Regions from separate parts of the Homo sapiens genome. Here regions 1 and 2 are each linked to region 3. Evidence: promoter capture Hi-C in 16 types of primary human blood cells and fetal thymus (Javierre and others, 2016). All regions are on one chromosome and are shown on one strand. Each heading gives the region's core, a stretch centred on a gene start or on the middle of the fragment in contact. The rest is flanking DNA. Distances are from core to core; before and after follow the strand shown. Region 1 has its middle 17 kb from the start of SYCE1L. Region 2 overlaps NUDT7 (nudix hydrolase 7). Region 3 holds the start of GCSH (glycine cleavage system protein H).

What was found. The method cuts DNA at HindIII sites, captures the fragments that hold promoters and counts their contacts. A CHiCAGO score of 5 or more calls a contact.
Region 1: a contact is called between a fragment that was not itself captured here and the fragment with the promoter of GCSH in region 3, in 1 of 17 cell types (activated CD4 T cells). The highest score is 5.2, in activated CD4 T cells.
Region 2: a contact is called between a fragment that was not itself captured here and the fragment with the promoter of GCSH in region 3, in 2 of 17 cell types (non-activated CD4 T cells and total CD4 T cells). The highest score is 12.3, in non-activated CD4 T cells.

What each region holds. Positions count from the first base shown.
Region 1 is chr16:77,214,881-77,217,580 of GRCh38, forward strand. No RefSeq gene overlaps it. Among named protein-coding and RNA genes, the nearest start is that of SYCE1L, 17 kb to the left of the region's middle. The HindIII fragment of the contact is 2,250 bases long and covers 153-2,402 here.
Region 2 is chr16:77,724,898-77,727,597 of GRCh38, forward strand. It overlaps NUDT7 (nudix hydrolase 7), which reads left to right. Exons shown (of 4, transcript NM_001105663.3): 2 at 534-687. Among named protein-coding and RNA genes, the nearest start is that of NUDT7, 3.7 kb to the left of the region's middle. The HindIII fragment of the contact is 1,893 bases long and covers 477-2,369 here.
Region 3 is chr16:81,095,134-81,097,833 of GRCh38, forward strand. GCSH (glycine cleavage system protein H) reads right to left here and starts at 1,262. Exons shown (of 5, transcript NM_004483.5): 1 at 998-1,262. The coding sequence starts at 1,145. RefSeq lists silencers at 679-1,348, 1,499-1,598. The HindIII fragment of the contact is 7,249 bases long and covers 1-2,117 here.

The sequences.
Region 1 (2,700 bases), core at 28-2,527, 3.9 Mb before region 3:
TTTGATTTGCCCTGTGTTCTCCTGACTCAACTGACCTTCCTGGCAGGGCTACTTCTCCTTTCATTGAAATAATTGACAGCTGCCTGGGAAGTCTTCACTCACTTCCTGTAACAGCTTTTCTCAGGGCTTGCATTCAATTACCATAATTCTCAAGCTTCTTGGCTTGTAGTTCAGGTTCAAATGTGAATGAGCCTGGGGGAGCTCAGTGTTGCCAAAAGGCGGAAGGACATTCTTTTTATTATTATTATTATTTTTATTTATTTATTTATTTATTTTTGAGACGGAGTCTCGCTCTGTCGCCCAGGCTGGAGTGCAGTGGCGCCATCTCGGCTCACTGCAAGCTCCGGCTCCCAGGTTCACGCCATTGTCCTGCCTCAGCCTCCAGAGTAGCTGGGACTACAGGTGCCCGCTACCACACCCGGCTAATGTTTTTCTGTATTTTTAGTAGAGACGGGGTTTTACCGTGTTATCCAGGATGGTCTCGATCTCCTGCCCTCGTGATCCGCCCGCCTCGGCCTCCCAGAATGCTGGGATTACAGGCGTGAGCAACCGCACCCGGCCAGGACATTCTTGAAAAAAGTAAGCCAGAAAGAAACCCACTGAAAAACAGAGGAGTCAGAGGAGGGGCCCGAAGAGATGCAAACATAGCACATCCTGAGTAGCAAGCTAGACAAGGCATGGAAGAGAGAGTGGCCAAAGTGACTGCAGTAGAATCTCCCGGAGGATAATAATATTACTACCTAATAGAGCACACTAGTTAGCAGAACAGAACCCAGGGCCAGACTGTGTTTGTTAGAATCCCAGCTCTGCTGCATACTAGCTGTGTAACTTCAGGTTACACAGTTAGGTTACTTAAATTCCCTTTTTTTTTTTTTTTTTGAGATGGAGTTTCATTCTTGTTGCCTAGGCTGGAGTGCAATGGCGAGATCACGGCTCACTGCAACCTCCACCTCCTGAGTTCAAGGGATTCTCCTGCCTCACCCTCCCGAGTCACTGGGATTACAGGCGCCCACCTCCACACCCAGCTAATTTTCGTATTTTTAGTAGTGACGGGGTTTCACCATGTTGGCCAGGCTGGTCTCAAACTCCTGACCTCAAGTGATCCACCCGCCTTGGCCTCCCAAAGTGCTGGGATTACAGGCGTGAGCCACCCTGACTGGCCGTTCATAAAGTTTTGAGGACATGTAGCATGTTACGTTTCAGAGAATCAAAGGCATCCACCATTTCTTTTTTGATCTCTCAATTTTGTGTTCATTTAGATTTCAGACAGCAATCAAAACATCAAGTACAGGTGAATACAATCCCAGGCCACCTTTTCCTGGGAACCTGGATATTGAGCTCTTACTTTTCTCCATTCTAGGATCTTGTTAAGCAGTGATGCTAACCAGTGAGTAGAACAGTGAGAGGTCCGTGCATATTCTATTTGCTGATCTACCAGCTGTTTTAAGGGACTGGTCAGTGGCAGAATTAACATATTTGCCATACCTACAAAATTCACAAGTACCTAGACTTCATTTTCCATTTTCCTACAAAACTCAAACTCTGTTTTTGTGACCTATTACTCACCGTAATCCTACCCAGCATCTTTCTCATTGGAATCTTGAGTAACATTTACCCAAAGATTACATTAGTTCCATTCTTCTTCCTTTCATTATCAAGTCATTATTAGATGGAGATGATTTGAATAGCCTAGGTGCCTGTTTTTTGTCTTGTAGTCCTTCCTTGGTGTTAACTCTGAAATTAATTTATCTCTTTTTTTATTTTTATTTATTTATTTTTTGAGATGGACTCTCACTCTGTCGCCCAGGCTAGAGTGCAGTGGCACAATCTCGGCTCCCTGCAACCTCCACCTCCCGGGTTCAAGCGATTCTCCTGTCTCAGCCACCCAAGTAGCTGGGACTACAGGTGCCCACCAACACGCCCGGCTAATTTTTGTAGTTTTAGTAGACACAGGGTTTCACCATATTGGCCAGGCTGGTCTCAAACTCCTGACTTCAAATGATCCACCCACCTTGGCCTCCCAAAGTGCTGGGATTATAGGCGTGAGTCACCATGCCCTGCTAAAATTAATTGATTTCTTCCAAGTGTGTGCAGTCATGTTTTACTTCTGTGATCAGACCTATTTAAGAGTTATAAAGATTCCTTCCAATTGTATCTTATGAAAGCCAGTAGGCATTTAATGACCTTCTTTTCTGGAGTCATTGTCTTTATATTTTGTGCCTCATTTTTGGAAAGCCTGTTTTACTTTCCGTGTGTCTTCTTATTTCTAAAGTCTTATTAAACCTACATTATCTAAAATGCCCATTACCTATAAATTTCTCTTCCACTCTGAGATTAAATATCTTTCTCAGTGGTTACCTTTATATTTTTAGAACATTTTATTGTTTAAAAATCACAGTCAAAGCTTCAAAAAACATACACCCCAAAATATCCCAATTTCAGTATCCTACTACCCAGAGGAGAGCACATGGCTGTTCTTCCCCTTCTGGTGCCCACAGCACTAGCGAGGACCCTGCCCTGAAGAGACCACTTGCCCACCCTCCTGCCCACCATATGTTAAGTCACCGTTTCTAATACATTTATTTATTTATTTATTTATTTAGTAAGATGGAGTCTCGCTCTGTTGCCTAGGCTGGAGTACAGTGGTGCAGTCTCGGCGCACCGCAAGCCCTGCCTCCTGGGTTCAAGCAATTCTGTAGC
Region 2 (2,700 bases), core at 173-2,672, 3.4 Mb before region 3:
ATTCTCAGGCCCTACACCAGAGTTACTGAGTCACAGTCTGGGACTGAACCTCGCAGTCTATGTGACAGCCAGCGCTCCAGGTGATTCTGTTGCTGCTAAAGCTTGGGAACCACTATTATAAGCAGTTGAAGACATAAGAGTTTGAGAACATAAGGGCCAGCTTAACAGAAGGTAGTCTTCTAACCTTCTAACCTTAACAATGACTTTTTCATCAAACCTGTCTTCTCTGAATATAATTATGGGTTTCAAAATTCAACTGTTGCATTATTGAAAAAACATTTTACCATACTTTATGTTTCAAAGAGAACCTGTGTACTAAACTGTGTGCTTAGAAGGTTTTTTTGTCATTTTCATCTTGCGAACAACCACGCAATTTAGATAGTATCATTTCTGTCGTGTTATTGAAAAATACACAGAGAGTCAGAAATGGCAAACTCCTAAATACACAACAAAGCAGAAACAGAGGCAGGACTATAAGCTTTTTACCATAACTCTGCTTGCTAAAATGTCTGTCTGGTTTGTTTTTATTTTAGAAACAGTTTGCTAGATGATGCTAAGGCCCGCTTAAGAAAGTATGATATTGGAGGCAAATATTCTCACTTGCCATATAACAAATACTCCGTCCTTTTGCCATTGGTGGCTAAAGAAGGAAAACTCCATTTGTTGTTCACCGTCCGGTCAGAGAAGGTAGGTGGACAAAAAATTTCCTGCCCTTAAACCTCAGGACATCAGAAGACCTCACGAGATTTTGTCACTTGCACACACTTTGATGCCAAAATTCTCAAAAGGGCTTTCAAAATTGTGATGTCAGAGGCATACAACCACAAGCCACAGGATAACATGGTGTTTCTTGGAGAAGGTTTAACAAGAAAATGAAGGAATTTAGCTAGCAAGCAGTTTAAAACGCTTTCACACTAGGGTTACCTAACCTTGGTGCTATTGGCATTTGGGGCTGAATAATTCTTTGGTGTGGAGGCTGTCCTGTATAATGTGGTGTGTTTACCATCATCCTTGGCCTCTACCCACCAGATGCCAGTAGCACACACAAACACAAGCTCACACACACCTTTGTCCCTTTGTCCAGTATGCCAGTAGCACACACACCACAAATGTCTTCAGAATTGCCTACTATCCTGGCAGGATTGGGGGTGCCAAATTGCCCCCCACCAAGGGCCACTGTTTTAGACTATCCCACCCCCAGTATAATGTGAAAATACTAGAGCATAGAAGTTAACGGCCTAGGCTCTAAAGCTAGCTGTCCACGTTGAATCCAGGCTCTCTCCTTGCCAGCTGTGACTTTGGCCTCGTTACTTGCCCTCTCTGTACTTCAGTCTTTTCACTTGTAAAATGAGGACAAAATATTAGTAACTGCTTCATACAGCTGCTATGAACATTTCACAGGGTAACAAATGTAAAGCACCTATATAACCCAGGTACTTGGCAAGGAAGAATTCAGTAAGTTTTAGCTGTCATCGTTAGTGTCAAGTGACCTGTCAGACATGACCTGAAGTTTTAAGATAAATGATGTCACTTTACAGAAATAATGGGCTGGGAATGGAGTTTCTGGCTCACCCCTTGTATTGGTCCATTCTTGCATTGCTATAACGAAATACCTGAGGCTGGGTATGGTGGCTCAAGCATGTAATCCCAGCACTTTGAGAGGCCAAGGTGGGAGGATCACGAGGTCAGCAGTTCGAGACAAGCCTGACCAACATAGTGAAACCCCATCTCTACTAAAAATACAAAAGAATTAGCCAGGCATGGTGGCACACACCTGTAATCCCAGCTACTCAGGAGGCTGAGGCAGGAGAAACACTTGAAACCAGGAGGCGGAGGTTGCAGTGAGCCGAGATTGTGCCACTGCGCTCCAGCCTGAGGAACAGCGAGACTCCATCTCAAAAAAAGAAAGAAAGAAAGAAAAAGAAATATCTGAGTCTGGGTAATTTATAAAGAAAAGAGGTTTCATTGAGTCATGGTTCTGCAGGCTGTACAGGAAGCATGACACAGGCATCTGCTCAGTTTCTGGAAAGGCCTCAGGGAGTGTACCATCATGGCAGAGGGGGAGCAGGAGCAAGAGAGAGAGCAGGGAAATACCACACACTTTTAAATGGCCCCGGATCTCATGAGAACTCACTCACTATCATGGGGACAGTGCCAAGATGATGGTGCTAAACCATGCGTGAGAAATCTGCCCCTGTGATCCAGTCACCTCCAACCAGACCCCACCTCCAACACTGGGGACTCCAGTTCAACATGAGATTTGGGCAAGGACAAATATCGAAACTCTACCACCCCCACACCCGTGAGCACAGTCAGTTTCCCTTGCTGTGGGGAACTTCCAAGGAAAAGCTGGTGAAGCAGTCATTTTAAGCTTATCCAAGTACAAAAAGAAAATAAGCCATATTAACAGGCTTTTTAAGCAGAATAATGAAAAGTATTTTGTTTAAAAAAAAAATGCCAAGGAATCAGCTGGAGTTTTGTGGACGTGGAAGTAGACTTGTGTGGATTGTGTTCGGTCTGAGCCAGGCAGAAATGCCGTGAACTCAGGACATGATAGAAATCCAGGTTCCAGGGGGAAATACTTAAATGGAAACCAGGGGACCAGTGTCTGTTCCCACCTCTGCCAATAAGCACAGGAGAAGCACTTACATATATTTTTTAAAATTATCAGATATGGCCGTGTGCGGTGGCTCACGCCTG
Region 3 (2,700 bases), core at 12-2,511:
TGCAATAATTGTGCTGAAGTAGCACAAATGGCCGAAACATTCATGGGCAGGTTTCCCAGTTATTTCAAGTCCGTTTGAGTTAGGGCTCATTTCAGCAAGCACACACATGAATGATCCAATACAAACTTTAGCAGAACTTCTGTTGAGTCCAGAAGACTTTATCTTACTTGTTTTGGGGAAATAGCTGAATCTTCAAAGTTATGATTGTTTTATCTAGTAAAAAAATCTAGATCTGGCGCTTTAATTTTTTTTTTTTTTTTTTTTTTTGAGGTGGAGTTTTGCTCTGTCGCCCAGGCTGGAGTGCAGTGGCGCGATCTCGGCTCACTGCAACCTCTGCCTCCCAGGTTCAAGCGATTCTCCTGCCTCAGCCTCCCGAGTAGCTGGGATTACATGCGCATGCCGCCACGCCTGGCTAATTTTTTGTACTTTTAGTAGAGATGGGATTTCACCGTGTTAGCCAGGATAGTCTCGATCTCCTGACCTCGTGATCCGCCCTCCGGCATGAGCCAACGCGCCCTGCCTGGTGCTTTAATTTTAATAAGCGCTTCTGTTTTAATTTTACTTCGGAGTTCTCAGTAACGGTCCATTTAGTAAACTAAAGGCCTCCCCATTTGGGGTCTCAACGATGCACGCAGATGGGAGATAAACTTAAGGCCACCGAGACGCTTAAGCGACACGTGCCTGGCTTCTGCAGCAAGCGGCCGACCTGCCCGCCGGACCCGCCGGGCCACCCCCGCCTCGGTGTCCCGCAGGCCTCCCCTCCCGGCTGCATGCAATCCCTAGGGCAAAGGCTACTCGCGGGTCCTCCCGCTACTTAAGGGGGAGAAGCGGCCGCAGAGCCAGGGATCCCAACAGAAATAAGAAGGGGGCAGGGTCCGCGCTCGCTCCGCCCCGGTGGCTCAGGAGCGGTGCCCCGGCGTCCTCCGTGTCCCGCTGGGCCCGGGACAAGCAGCCCAGGCGGGGAGGGAGCAGCCGCCCACGTGCCCGCCGCGCTTACCCGAGAGCAGAGCGGGTCCAGTGCGCAGCGTACGGACGGCGCCCACCCCCAGCTGCCAGGGCCTCGGCGGGCAGGGCGCGGCGGGTGACGGGACCGCGCGCAGGGTGCAGAGCAGGGCCCGCACGCTCCGCACCACTCGCAGCGCCATGTTCGCAGGGGTGCGGGGGTCGCAGCGCTACGCCTCGGCCACCCGCGCCGGGAGGCGGGGCGGGGAGGGGCAGTTCGCGGCCGGAGGGAGCCGGCTGGATGGAGGCGCGGAGGCGGTGCCGCGGGGGCGGGACAGAGCCTGACTGGGCAGAGCGTGGAGGGCGGAGACTCCCAGGCGAGGGGGCGAGGCAGGGTCTGATTGGCCAGCACGCGGAGACTGGGGACTCCAGGGCCTGGCGCGACCTCGGATACGGCGACGCGAAAGAGGGGCGTGGGCATGGGGAAGAACCTGAGGCCCGGAAGAGGCAGCACCGAGAGGCGGAGACTAGCGCGGCGGGCCTGGGTATGATTGGGCTGCCCGCAGGAGGGGGGCGGGGCCTAGCCCCAGACTGGGTTCCTTTCCACATGTGTATCTCTTTTACTGCCTCTGTCATAAGTTTTCAAAGGTGGTTTCACCACCTCACGAAGGAATTCAAGAACAAGTCGGAAAGTCGTGAAAGTACAGAGGTTTACTGCAAAGTACACACTGAAGAAAGGGCGGACTCAAAAGAGGGCCACACAATGGGGCTTGGGGTTTCCATCTTTATGGGTTTCTTTGAGAAATGGAATATACACAAAGGTTTCTGGAATAAGGTGGAGACTTGTCAGAACTGTGGTGCCACCCATTTTTACACCAAATATGGGTGTTCCCGGAATTGTTGTGGTGCCGGTGGGTGTGTGACTTAGTATGTTAATGAGTCCTAGGTGAAGCCTAGGTCAAAGCCACACCACGTTGGGTCCAGTTGGTTTTAGCCAGGTTGACCCACACCCTGGTTTTTCAGGGTCTTAGCCCATAGCTTGTGCAGCTATTTCAACAGTTTCCTTTTGTTAGACAGAACTGCAGCCTGGAAGTTTCTATTCTCCTTCAACTGCTCTGTAACGTTCCTGTCTCAAAGAGCCCCAGGGACCCCAAACAGGACCGGCAGAATCCAGAAGCTTACTTAAAAAGGAATAAAGACTTGTCCAAGGGTCATAAGTGGCTTCTTGGTGGAGACTGGACCCAAGCCAGTCACTAATGCAGAAATATTCAAAACGCAGAGAGCTGAGACCCAGTGTGCACAATTCCTTGTTTCATCGGCCAGCGGTGTGACCAAGGCCTTCCGAGAAAAGCCGAAGTCATCATCCCAATCCAAGAAGTCAGAAAAAAATTAGGTTCTGGGAAAAACCTCACCTTTAACACAGATTTTATGGAGTGGCCATGAGTCAGCAAAGAAATACTGTTCTGAAAAACACCTTAAGCTACACACACACCTTTAGTACTGTTACAGAAAGGGCTCCCAATCCAGACCCCAAGAGAGGGTTTTTGGACCTCATGCAAGAAAGAATTTGGGGAGAGTCTATAAAGTGAAAGCACGTTTAATAGAGAAGTAAAGAAAAAAAAGAATGGCTTCTTCGTAGACAGAGCAGCAGTATGGCTTCTCGACTAAGTGTACTTATAGTTATTTCTTGATTGTATGCTAAACAAGGGGTGGATCATTCAAGAGTTCTCCAGAAAAGGGGCAGGGATTTCCTAGAAC